Regions from separate parts of the Homo sapiens genome. Here all the other regions are linked to region 2. Evidence: promoter capture Hi-C in human tissues and cell types (Jung and others, 2019). All regions are on one chromosome and are shown on one strand. Each heading gives the region's core, a stretch centred on a gene start or on the middle of the fragment in contact. The rest is flanking DNA. Distances are from core to core; before and after follow the strand shown. Region 1 holds the start of SRCAP (Snf2 related CREBBP activator protein). Region 2 holds the start of RABEP2 (rabaptin, RAB GTPase binding effector protein 2). Region 3 holds the start of ZNF771 (zinc finger protein 771).

Evidence for each region. Contacts are between HindIII fragments. The study calls those that stand out against the background at their distance.
Region 1: the fragment with the promoter of SRCAP here is called in contact with the fragment with the promoter of RABEP2 in region 2 in 1 of the 25 tissues and cell types used here (stomach).
Region 3: a contact is called between the fragment with the promoter of ZNF771 here and the fragment with the promoter of RABEP2 in region 2, in 1 of the 25 tissues and cell types used here (small bowel).

What each region holds. Positions count from the first base shown.
Region 1 is chr16:30,697,467-30,701,609 of GRCh38, forward strand. SRCAP (Snf2 related CREBBP activator protein) reads left to right here and starts at 1,705. Exons shown (of 34, transcript NM_006662.3): 1 at 1,705-1,776; 2 at 2,442-2,515; 3 at 3,150-3,412. The coding sequence starts at 3,359. It overlaps LOC730183 (a long non-coding RNA gene), which reads right to left and starts at 1,594. Exons shown (of 2, transcript NR_144637.2): 1 at 1,415-1,594; 2 at 241-465. It also overlaps the pseudogene RNU6-1043P. RefSeq lists enhancers at 516-605, 636-825, 1,482-1,776 and silencers at 946-1,355, 1,496-1,725. The HindIII fragment of the contact is 12,049 bases long and covers 1-4,143 here.
Region 2 is chr16:28,922,710-28,926,619 of GRCh38, forward strand. It overlaps RABEP2 (rabaptin, RAB GTPase binding effector protein 2), which reads right to left and starts at 2,529. Exons shown (of 13, transcript NM_024816.3): 1 at 2,394-2,529; 2 at 1,694-1,906. The coding sequence starts at 2,454. RefSeq lists enhancers at 1,661-1,750, 1,781-2,010, 2,989-3,572 and silencers at 2,171-2,390, 2,421-2,770. The HindIII fragment of the contact is 23,237 bases long and covers 243-3,910 here.
Region 3 is chr16:30,406,061-30,410,173 of GRCh38, forward strand. ZNF771 (zinc finger protein 771) reads left to right here and starts at 1,546. Exons shown (of 3, transcript NM_001142305.2): 1 at 1,546-1,604; 2 at 1,985-2,134. The coding sequence starts at 1,994. RefSeq lists silencers at 1,270-1,449, 1,472-1,681, 3,516-3,605. The HindIII fragment of the contact is 10,608 bases long and covers 80-4,113 here.

The DNA of each region.
Region 1 (4,143 bases), core at 455-2,954, 1.8 Mb after region 2:
CGCAGGGAAGAGCTAAACTGAATGGAGGAAGGGGAGCTTCATCAGGGCTTCCTAACCTGGCCTCTTAGCGGGGGCTTTAGGTGGTAAAATTTTATGACAGCGAGTGCATTCTTGTGGCTTAGACTGCTTGGCTAGGAATCTTGACTTCAGGATCTGTCACTGTGTTTTAACGCCTGAGCCTCAATTCGTTTGTAAAATGGAGCAGTTAGGATTAAAAGAAATAATCAAGGCACCAAGTAGTGTCAGTAGAAGGTAGCTGTTATTTATTGTTCTATTCTGGGGTAAAGGTATCAGATTCTCAAAGGGATTCTTAATCTAGAAAGTTTGCGAAGAGATGGCAAAGGTGTTTGAAAGCTATCAGGAAACCATCCTCGCGTAAAACGAAGCAGCGCTACAGAAGTGGGCTGCCATGGGAATCGGGAGGCCCAGGTTCCACTGCTAACTTGCTGCAGCTTACTGGGTGATCTGTAAATAAAAAGGGAGGTGGCGGTGGTCCGAGCTGGCAGCCGCAATGCAGCCCCAGGTAGATCTAGGGGCAAACGGTAAAGGCGCTCCGAGGAAGGGCGAGCGCGCAGCCTCTGGGAGACTACACCTCCCAGGCTGCCTTGCGCACCGTGCTGCACCCTACGCTAGCACGCGAGCCTCCCCGTTCCCCCACCCTCCAGTTACTGTCTCTCGCGAGAAGACGGGCCGCGCCGGCGATAGCGATTCCGAGCGAGTGGTGGTGGTAGTGGTGGTGGTGGCGGCCGAGACGGCGGCGGCCATTTTGGTGAGGCCTCGGGAGCGGCAGCGGCGGTTCGCTGGGAGTAGCGTCTGCCCTTTTTCCCACCCACCGTCCGCATCTGTGTGCTGCGCGAAGAGGCAGTGGAGGCAAGGCGGTGGCAGTAGCCGCAGTCTCCAGGGGAGTTTAAAGGCCGCGAAGGCGGTGGCCAAGAGGGGGCCCTCCCCCCTCCTAGGCGGGAGGGGGGGTGGTGCGCACGCCCCCGAGGACGCAGGTAAGGAGAGGGAGACAAGATGGCGAACGCCCCACAGTTCCCCCTCCCATGACGGCTGACTGCGCGCGCATCTTTCCGCCACCGCCTCCCCCCCACCTTCCCGGGGTGCTGCGCGCGCACCCTCAGCCGGGGCCCCGGGGCCGGTGCGCGAGGCTGTCGGCGCGCGCCCATAGAGACAGACTGAGGGGGTCAGGCCGGCCGGCGCTGGGCCCCGGCGTGTCTCCTCTCCCTTCCCGCCCTTCTGCGCACGCGTGCCTGAGCGAGCGAGCGAGCGAGCGAGCCCTGAGAGGACGGACCCAGGTGCGCTCCTGCCCGCCCACCAACCCAGTCACCCCTCAGGGGCGCGCGGGAAGAGGAAGGGGGGCGTGGGACGAGTAGTCGGGGCGCGCGCCCACCACATCTAGCCGGGGGACCAGGACCTGGTGGCACGAACCCTCCCTTCTCTCAGCCTTTCGCGGTCGGGTGATGGGGGGGCTCCCTGACGGGCTTGGATGACGAGCTTCCCAGCCCCGCGACCCTTGTGTGCGTGGGCTCGGGTTCTGGCGGGAGCCCCTGGGCCGTGCGCGCAGCCGGCTCGCTCCGCCTCCAGCCGCGCACGCGCGGGCCCCTCCCCCGCCCGGCGCGCACGTTGGGTGGGGTGGGAGTCTGGAGGGGGCGGGGCTATCTCAGGGCTAGTGGCAACTTGGGCAGAGGTCAGGGGTCACGCGAGGTCAGTCCGTCGGGAGGGCTAGGGAGATGGTCACGAAACCTGAAGTCAAGAGTTAAGGCTTGTTGGCTTCTGGTGAGCTCGGGTCTTGGGAACGTGTGGCGGAGTAGGGAGTGAATCAAAGCCGGCACTGTGGTTTAGGAATTTCCTTAAACACTGGGGAAGCATTTCCGGGCCTCCTGCGGGTTCACACTGCCTGTTTCCGGCGCGTGGTTCTTGGCAGTGCGGCCTCTCGCTTTTGACTGCTCCTGAGTCTCCTTTTGCTGTGGTTCTTGTATTTGGGGAAGTGTCTCAAGGCGCAGGTATGGGATATACAGCGCCCTGCCCTGAATCCTGGGCGGATTTTCCTGTGACCAGCCTGTTTGTTGACTCTTCCCGGGAGTTCCACTCTCACTTCTGCGTTCAGCCCTCACTGGAAAGGCCCGCAGGCAGGTAGCACCTTTCTGAGGTTCTGGATGTGACAGCTTTTTTTTGCTGTATTTTTTTTTTGTCTTCCATTCTGTGGTTGGAGCCTTTACACTTAAAATTTTTGAACTTTCTTTCTTCACTCCTTTCCTGCTCCTGCCCCCAGGCAGGATCGTATGTCCCTCCGGAATTCACAAAACATGATTTGCATTTCCCTGAAATGTGAGATTTTCCTACTACTGTAGTTTTTCTGTTTCTAGTCTTTTAACTGATTTGGGTATATTTAAACGTCTCAAAAAACTGGAGTAAATAATACGCTTTGATGGATGTTTCAGGTGTGATTCCCTTCAGTACGGCGGCACCGTGGAAGTGCAGACTTTCACAGGGGGTGTGGTCTCAGCTCACACAGGTGAGGGATCTGCTACCATTTTGTGTGCTGATGCTAATGGGAGAAATGTTTGAGATAAAGCAATTATAGGTCCGTATTGGGGATTTTCACTCTAGAGAAGCATGGGAATGTTTGCATGTGATTTTTCTGTAGAGGGTTTGATTATAGTACAACAACAGAACTGAGGCTGTGGGTTGAGGAAAACGTGGTCAACCTGGCTCTACCAGGAAGAGTAGCAGGTTTTCCTTGGTTTTGGCATCAGACTGTGGATTGAAGCCCTCCTATCACTTTTTTACTGTGTAACCTTCCGCAAATCATAAGGTCTTAACTTCGTAACTTACAAAACAGATTATATTAGAATGTAAGCTACATTTAGGTCGGGAATCCTTTCTGCATGGCTATATCCGTTGTGTGTAGGAGGAAGTCAATATTTGTTATGCTGTGAAAAGCACTTGGTTTTTAAGGTAGGTGTGAGGATTATAGAACACATCAAACAGGTACTAAAAGTATCTTATACATAGTAAGTGCTCAAGAAATGTAACCTGTAATTTCTGTGTTTCTCTTTATTCAGTGTTATTTCTGGTTTTTTAAAAATACTTTTTCATCCCCTTTAACTGCATTTCTGTCTTTTTTTTTTTTTTTAACCCTACTTTAGGTGCTCCAGAGGCTGGTGGACCTGAGCGGAGGCTGGGACGCCCTGGTGGGCCCCGGGCCCTGGAAGGCGGGTCCCGGTGGCCGGTGGCCCAGAATGAGGCCAGCTCCCAGCATGCCCTGCAGCCGGACGCCAGCCCCTCGGCCAGCAGTACTGGTGATAACAACCCAGTCATTCTTCAGGCATCCAAGGGGGAGCCTGGGAGTGGGACCATGCAGAGCAGCCCCTCCCCTGCTCACCCTCAGCTCCCAGTCCTACAGACACAGGTTTGAAAGTGGGAAGAGTTCCTTCTCTGCTTCTGCTTTGTGGATTGTTGAGTGTGAGGCAGAAGAAATGTGGCAGGGGAATATTTGTGGAGAGTTTTGGAGAATCTTTGGTGCTCGGGGGCTGGGCTGTAGTATATCAGGTCTGTTGGATACTCACATTCCATTTAACATTAGTGTAATATTATCTCCAAGAGTGTAAAAGCGCCTCGTTACCTGAAAAAGGTTGAATTAGGCTAGGCTGGAAATGGAGGTCGTGGCACCATGCTTCTAATACCATACGCTTTAAGAATAGTTTAACTTCTATCAGTACTGGAGTAGGATAAGCCTATGGATGGTGTGTAGTGTTCATTCCTTTCTCATACCAAGGAAGGGTGTGGGGTAGGAAAAAAAGCATGACTTTTAAACACATCTAGGTGTGTGTACAGTCAGCTTTCTATTTTAATTTTTTAAATTTTTCTATAAAAAGGGTTTCTTTATTGTGTCATCCTTGCACAGGGGCCATGCTAATCTTTTCTGTATCCTCCCAGTTTTAGTATATGTGTTGCCAAAGTGAGCAGTACAGTAAGCTTTTCATGTTTGTAAAGTTGGTATTTATAGTTTTCCTGAGAAACTGGGGAAATTTGTGACATACAGTCTTGTCATTTAGCCGAGGTAGGAATTTGAGTGGCGCAGTGTAAGGCTTATGTCCTGGAGTGAATTTGTGAATTCCCTGAGTATCCACCTTTCAGTAG
Region 2 (3,910 bases), core at 1,279-3,778:
GTAAGACTCCATCTCAAAAGAAAAGAAAAAAAAAATTAGCCACGTGTGGTGGCACACGCCTGTAGTCCCAGCTACTTGGGAGGCTGAGGAAGGAGAATCGCTTGAACCCGGGAGGTGGAGGTTGCAGTGAGCTGAGACTGCACCACTGAACTCCAGTCTGGGTAACAGTGAGACACTGTCTCAGAAAAAAAAAAAAATAGGTTCAGCTGTTAGGCTGCTTGGTTTCCAACCTTTGGCTGTTTTCCAGCTATATGACCTTGGGCAAGTTATTTAACCTCTCCGGGCCTCAGAGCTTCCTCTGTAAAATGGAGATGGGTAATAGTTCCTGCCTCACAGAGTTTGTTATGAAGATTAGTTACTCATAAAGCATTTAGCTCAGTGCCTGGCACATAGTGAGTGCTCAAAACATGCTACCTGGCCAGGCGCGGTGGCTCACACCTGTAATCCCAGCACTTTGGGAGGCCAAGGCAGGCAGATCGTTTGAGCTCAGGAGTTCAAGACCTGTCTGGGTAACATAGAGAGACCCTGTTTCTACAAAAAAATACTAAAAATTAGCCAGGCATGGTGGCATGCACCTGTAGTCTTGGCTACTTGGGAGGCTGAGGTAGGAGGATCTGCTTGAGCCCAGGAGGTGGAGGTTGCAGTGAGCTGAGATCACACCAGCGTGCTGTGACGCACTCCAGCTTGGGCGACAGAGTGAAACTCTTATTGACTCAAGAAAAAAAAAAAAAGCTAGCTATTGTTATTATTTAGGACACACCTGGCTTTTCTTATATAGTAGATATAACAAGTTTCCCTTAATAAATGTATGTAAACTTTTAAAATGTGGATCTATTTAAAGAACAAATATTAAGTAAACAGCACAGTAAGTTGTACAAGGATGTGTCTACATTGCACAGGCAGGTGGATCCTGAAATGTGGGAAATACAGCCCCAGAGAAGTCTCCAGCCACCAGCAGCTGTTAGAAAGGGAAATCGCATGTTGGGAAGGGAATTTTAGGAAGTTTACTCTGGAAGCCAATGTCAAGGCCACACTATAGAGGAAGATCTGTGAGAAGGTTGGGACAAAAGTCCAGGAGAGAGTTGACGAGAGCCCCACCGCAGCAGGGGCATAGCAGCGGGGGCAGCTCTGACATCTGTTTCAGAGTCTCTGGCTTCTGCTAGAGGAAGGAGAGTAGAAAACAGGATCAGCAGCTGGGGCGTCTGGGGCCAGAGGACCAAGTACAAAGAACGTGGGGCGGAGGTGGGGAAGCTGGTGCATGGCGTGGGGTGGAGGGGGGAGTGTCTGGGGAAGGCTAGAGAGCAGAGCATTAGACTCACAGAGACTGGGCCAGGGCTGATTCTATTTCCCAGAAGTCCAGACTAAAATGAGGTTGGTTTGGGGAACTGAGAAGTTTCTCGCCCATCTTCAGGGTTGATCAATCATCAGTGAGGGACAAGAAATGACATGGGACAAGGCAACAGATAGAAGCTGGGAGCTAAACTTAGCTATAACTGACAGAGCTGCTGCTATCACATGGAGGGCCTCTATGCAAATTTTAAAAGGGCGGCCCTTCCTCTGGGCCATAGGCATGCCCTGTGCCAGGCAGCCCTGCTAACCTATCCCATAGCTTATCTGTGCCCCCAATCCCTTTCTCGTCATGCACTCCCCAGTATGGGGTTGATGGGGAGTCTAGGTGAGTCCCGCGTCTCACCTTTCAGGATGGCCTGCAGCGAGGCCACCTCCTCTTGGCACTGCCGCTGCACCGCAGCCACAGCCTCGGCCTTCGTGCTCTCGCTCACCTCTGCCACAGCCTTCATGGTTTCCATTTCTGCCAGGGCGCCTGCCAGCTCAGCCCGAAGCCGGCTGAGCTCACCTGACTCGGCCTCACCATTTGCCCCTTCCTGGGACCGGGAGTCCTCCAGTGCTGTGGGGGACAGGGATCAGCCTCTCTTCCCATCTCTTACCCCAGGCCACCTACCGGCTTAGCAAGTCCTGCAACCTAGTACTGTTGCCTTCATCTGGGGCCTCCTTCACCTGGGCCCGCCCGGCTCACCTGGCCCCGCCCCTGCCCCGCCCCCTTCCCACTCGCTCTGCCGGGTGCTGCCTACACTCCATCTCTTCGCGGTGGCCAGTTTCACTCAGTCCTCTCTTCGGTCCCACCTGGCCCCGCCCTCCTAGTGGCCGCGCCCCTTCCTCACCGGGCCCCACTTCGCACCTGTCACTGGCCCTACCCCTTCAATGGCCGGGCCACGCCCCCTTTTGCCTGTGGCTGTAGGCCCCGCCCCCTTTCCCGACGGCGTGGCCCCGCCCCTTCCTCCATCATCCCTCTCCACCCCCCATCCGCAGGTGGCTGGCTCGGCCCCGCCCCCAGCATCACCGTTCCCCGCTTGCACGGACGCCCCCTCACGTACCAGCCCCCGGCCGCCGCCGCCGCTCATCGTCGTCCGCGGCCACCGGCGCAGCTGCCGCCATTGCCTCAGCGCAAACGGCGGATTCCCGCACTCCCTGGTGACGGAGCGCACCGCTTCCGGGTCCTCTCGGCTGTTTCCGGATCCGCTCGGCTGTTTCCGGATCGGCCCCGGGCTGGAGGCCCCGGACGGAGGATGGGGGGATTGCCGAGCCTCGGCCGAAGATTCCCGAGTCGGCCCCCGGCCCCGGCCCCGGCCCCGCCCCGGCTCTTCTTGGCTGGGTCGCGCGGTTCGGGAGGACGCCTGCCTTTCAAGCCCGGAAGAGGATCCTTAAGAGGTCTTGCCCGGCGTCTCTCCGTGACCTTGGAAGCCCTGCTCCAATTATGCCTCCTCCGGGACACCGGCCTGCGGAGAGCTCCCCCTCGCTCCCTCGCTGCCCCTGCCCGGAGCCAGCCTTTGATCGGCTCCGGCCGCCCTTCCGCCCGAGCCTGGCTTGCGTTACCGCGAATTGTGGCGGGGCCCTCCCTGCACCTCCGCCCTCTTGGAGCGTCCCTCGGGGCAGGGCCGGGTCGGCTTCATTTTTCTGAGCGCCTCGGAGTCCCCGCGTAGTTAGTCGGAGTCTGAAACTTGCACGTCCCCACCCCCATTTTGTTACTCAGCCAGTCACCGCTTCCTGCTGGCCCCCCTTTCCTCCTCCCAACGCCCTCAAATCCCTCCTCTCCTCTCCGCCTGTGTCTAGATCAGGCTCTTTATCTGTGACCTCCACCCGGACGGTGACAGGCAATTCAGATTTATGTCCAGAGCCTTGGTTCCCCTTCCCTCAAACCTTTTTTCCCTCTGTAAAGGACACGCCAGGAACCTGGAAGTCCTTGATTCTACGTGTCCTCCTGCAAGTCCCGTAAACTCTACTTCCAATGTGCTGACTATTCCAGAATGTGCCCCTTTTTCTCCATCTCCAGCGCTAACACTCCGTCCCAGCTCCCATCACTTCTCCTGAACTTCCGCAGTGTCGACTCCACCCTTTAATTAATTAATTCTCCGTAAAGCAGCTGGAGCGATTTTTGTAAAACAGATAATGCAGTTTGAAAATGGCCAAAGGTAGAACGCTTTTACACTGTTGGTGGGAATGTAAATTAGTTCAACCATTGTGGAAGACAGTGTGGTGATTCCTCAAAGACCTAGAACCAGAAATACCATTTGACCCAGAAATCCCATTACTGGGTATATACCTAAAGGAATATAAATCATTCTATTACAAAGATACATGCACGAGTATGTTCATTGAAGCACTATTCAAAATAGCAAAGACATGGACTCAACCCAAATGCCCATCAATGATAGACTGGATAAAGAAAATGTGGTACATATACACCATGGAATACTATACAGCCATAAAAAGGAACGAGATCATGTCCTTTGCAGGGACATGGATGAAGCTAGAAGCTATTATCCTCAGCAAATTAATGCAGCAACAGAAAGCTAAACATGCATGTTCTCACTTATAAGTGGGAGCTGAACAA
Region 3 (4,113 bases), core at 296-2,795, 1.5 Mb after region 2:
AGTTGCCCCATTCATAAAATGGGAAAATTAGATATCTGCTTTTTCAAGGGAAGTGGCTGTTTTTCAAAGGAAGTGGCATTTGTTTATTCCACTAAAAAAAAATCTATTTTTATATGAAATATCCCAATTTAATTTTTTTTTTCTTGAGACGGAGTTTCGCTCTTGTTGCCTAGGCTGGAGACCAATGGCATGATCTCGGCTCACTGCAACCACTGCCTCCCCAGTTCAAGCAATTCTCGTGCCTCAGCCTCTCGAGTAGCTGGGATTACAGGCATGCACCACCAAGCTTGGCTAATTTTTGTATTTTTAGTAGAGACGGGGTTTCACCATGTTGGTTAGGCTGGTCTCGAAATCCTGACCTCAAGTGATCCACCGGCCTCCGCCTCCCAAAGTGCTGGGATTACAGGCATGAGCCACCGCGCCCGGCTTTGAAACGATTTTTTTTTTTTTTTTTTTTTTTTTTTTTTGAGACGGAGTCTCGCTCTGTCGCCCAGGCTGGAGCGCAGTGGCGCGATCTCGGCTAACTGCAAGCTCGCCTCCCGGGTTCACGCCATTCTCCTGTCTCAGCCTCCCGAGTAGCTGGCACTACAGGTGCCCGCCACCACGCCCAGCTAATTTTTTGTATTTTGTTTAGTAGAGTCGGGGTTTCACCGTGTTAGCCAGGATGGTCTCTATCTCCTGACCTCGTGATCCGCCCGCCTCGGCCTCCTAAAGTGCTGGGATTACAGGCGTGAGCCGCCGTGCCCGTCCGAAAAGATTTTTTAAAAGTAAAAATACCCTAAGGGCCAAACAAGGTACCCCTGTGGACTGGATTTAGCTTTGGGCTGTTGTTCACCTAGGCTACTGATTGTCAGGGATGCTATGACATCCTTATCGTGTAACTTAGGCAAATCAGTTTACCTCCCTGAACTTCAGTGAGCTCATCTGTAAAATGGATCAGGACCCATCGTTATGCGGATCAAATGAGACCAGGTATGTAAGACGCTGAACAGCGCTGGCGCATGGTAAGCACCCCACGCATGACGCGACAGCGGTAGCTTGGGTGGATGTTGAATTGGTTAGGATGTATTCAAGGATATCCCAGAGGCCAGCGGAATAGGCGAAGCCGAGAAAGATGGAGAAAAGACGGCAGAGGAGATAAAGAGGGAATGGAAGAAGTGAGGAGGCAACAGGGTCCGCCCTCCAGGCGGGGCGCCAGGGAGAGGCCCAGGCCGGGGCGGGAGCGCACGTGGCCTATTTCGGGCGGAGCAGAGGCACTGGGCGCAGCGGAGACCTCCAAGCCGGCCCCAGGAGACGGGCCGCGAGGTTAGGTTGGAACTCGGCGGCAAGGACCTTGAACGCCGGGCTGGGGCGGCTCCAGGTGCTTGGGAGTCGGGGGACTGCGGAGGACGCCAAGTCTGAGCTCGCCGCCCTCTCCGAGCCGTTTGGGCCGGACGCCTGGGTCCTTCGGGCTCCGCCCCAGGGGGTGGGGCTATATGTTCGGACCAATGACCGGCCGTCCCTGCGGTCCCGCCCCCTCCCCGCCCCCGGAGCCGCGGCCTCGCTGAGTGCCCAGCCGCCCGGCGCCCAGGCCTGGGGCACCGCGAGTGCCGAACCTTCGGCTGGTGAGTGCGCACCCCCTCCCCGGGGTTTCCGCCCCGATCCCGCCTCCAGCCCGTGCCCCAGAGCTCCAGGTCGCCGACCCGGGCCCTGGGGAGTGACTCAGCGCAAGGATGGTGGCGACTTGCGGGGGCTGGAGATTCGAACTGTTCAAGGCCTTGAATGCTGGGATGAGTGGGGTGAACGCGAGCCCTCGGAGCTGGTCCCGGGGCTGTGCCAGAGCGTGGGGCCGGGCTGGGGTGGACGGGAGAGGACCAGATTCGGAGACCAGGGCAGGGCGGGAGAAGCCACGGCTGCACTGCCTTGCTGGGCCAGGGCCACGGTGGGCGGGGGGGGGGGTGGGGGGGGGCGGGTCCTGAGCTTCTGATCCAGCTCCCCGCCTCAGGACACCAAGATGCCTGGCGAACAGCAGGCAGAGGAAGAGGAGGAGGAAGAGATGCAGGAGGAGATGGTGCTGCTGGTGAAGGGTGAGGAGGATGAGGGTGAGGAGAAGTATGAGGTGGTGAAACTCAAGATCCCCATGGACAACAAGGAGGTATGTGTCACACACACCCTGGGGCACACTGTCCCCAAACCTGGTCCAGGCCCAGCCTCCCTCAGATAGAAGCCAGGGATCTTGCCCCTACTTTTCCCAGAATCTCGGATCTAAAACCTCAGGATTGGCCCATCCTTCTGCCCTACTGCCTGGGCTTCCATCATACAAAAGTCACGCCTACTGTCCCAGGCTTCCTGCTGGGTGCAGGAGATTAAACTCCGTCCTTGGATCCCCCATGGAGCTTGATGTTAGACTGAAGGGTAACCACACAGTTAGAATCCCGTGTGATGGCTGCAGGTACAGGGGGATGATGAAGCCTAGAAGTGGGAACTTAACTCAGATTTAGAGGTTGGGGAAAGGTCAGGTTAGTTCAACAGCAACAGTAACAATAGCTAACCCTTGCCTAGCATTTTCTATGTGCCAGGCACTGTTCTAAGCACCTCGATTCTATGATGTCGGTAGCATTTATTCCATTTTACAGATGAGGAGACTGAGGCCCAGGGCAGTTTGGTAACTGGCCACAGGTCTCAAAGTAAAAGGATGGCTTATGTGAGACTAGTAGGAGTCTGGGGTCAGAAGTGGGGTGATGGACCCAGTCAGAGGAAATGGCTCTTTTATTATTACTGTTGTTATTGTTTGAGACAGGGTCTCATTCAGTCACCCAAGCTGTAGTGCAGTACAGCTCACTGCAGCCTTGACTTCCCTGGGCTCAGGTGATCCTCCCACCTCAGCCTCCCAAGTAGCTGGGACTACAGGCATGCACCACTACACCTGGCTAATTTTTTTTTGTTTTGTTTTGAGACAGAGTTTCGCTCTGTTGCCCAGGCTGGAGTGCAGTGGCGTGATCTCGGCTCACTGCAGCCTCCACCTCCCGGGTTCAAGTGGTTCTCCTACCTCAGCCTCCCAAGAAGCTGGGATTACAGGCATGCACCACCACGCCCGGCTAATTTTTTGTATTTTCAGTAGAGTTGGGGTTTTGCCATGTTGGCCAGACTGGTCTCAAACTCCTGAGTTCAGGTGATCCTCCCACCTCAGCCTCCCAAAGTGCTGGGATTATAGGTGTGAGCCACCGTATCCAGCCAGAAATGGCCCTTATAGAGGCTCAGACGAGTGAGTAGTGCACTGCAGCAGTGAGGGTGGGTGGTTCGGTCATGCTGTAGTGTGGATGAGTGGGGGTGGTTGGCAGGCCACACAGGGAGTCTGGCTTTTATTCTGAGGGTATTTGAAGGTTTTGAGATCAGAATATGAGTTAAATTTCACCCCCTGGAGACCCTAACTGCCACCAGATACGTTTCCGCTTCTCAGAACCCCAGAGGATTCTGTCTGCCCCCAGCCTGAGCAGCCCTGAGTACCAGCAGAGGGCTTTGGCCCCAGGGACCCAGCTTGCAGGGGCCGGGACTCTGATTCTTCCTGCCCAGGAGCCAGTTCCCAGGGAAAGAATGCTCTGCTGCCCCCTAGTGGGCCTGCTGGGTGCTGGGGGAGGGGACTAGCTCCTTAGGCCTCTGGATAGTCTAATAACTATCTGGTTGTGTTTGTTGCGGGCCCCCTTCGCCCATTATCCAGCTCTGCCTGCCTCTTCTGGCCCTGCGATTGCCTGATCTCCACCTTTGGCCTCTAAGTTACAAACACAGGCTCCAGAGCTTAGGGTGGACTTCCAGCTCCATCATTTACCCGCTGTGTGACCTTGGCCAAGTTTCCTAACCGCTCCACGCCTCAGTTTCCTCATTTGTAAAAGGGAAATTATAACAGCACCTACATCTTGGAGTTGTGAGGAATGAATGAGTCAACACATGCACAGAGTTAGAACTGTGTCTGGCACAAAATAAACACGGAAATAGTTGCTGTTACATTTATTCTTCTCCCCAAAGCTCAGGACCTTGGGCAAGGTCATCCTTCTTGAGATTTTTCAACTTTTTTTTTTTTTTTTGAGACGGAGTCTCACTATGTCGCCCAGGCTGGAGTGCAGTGGCGCAATCTTG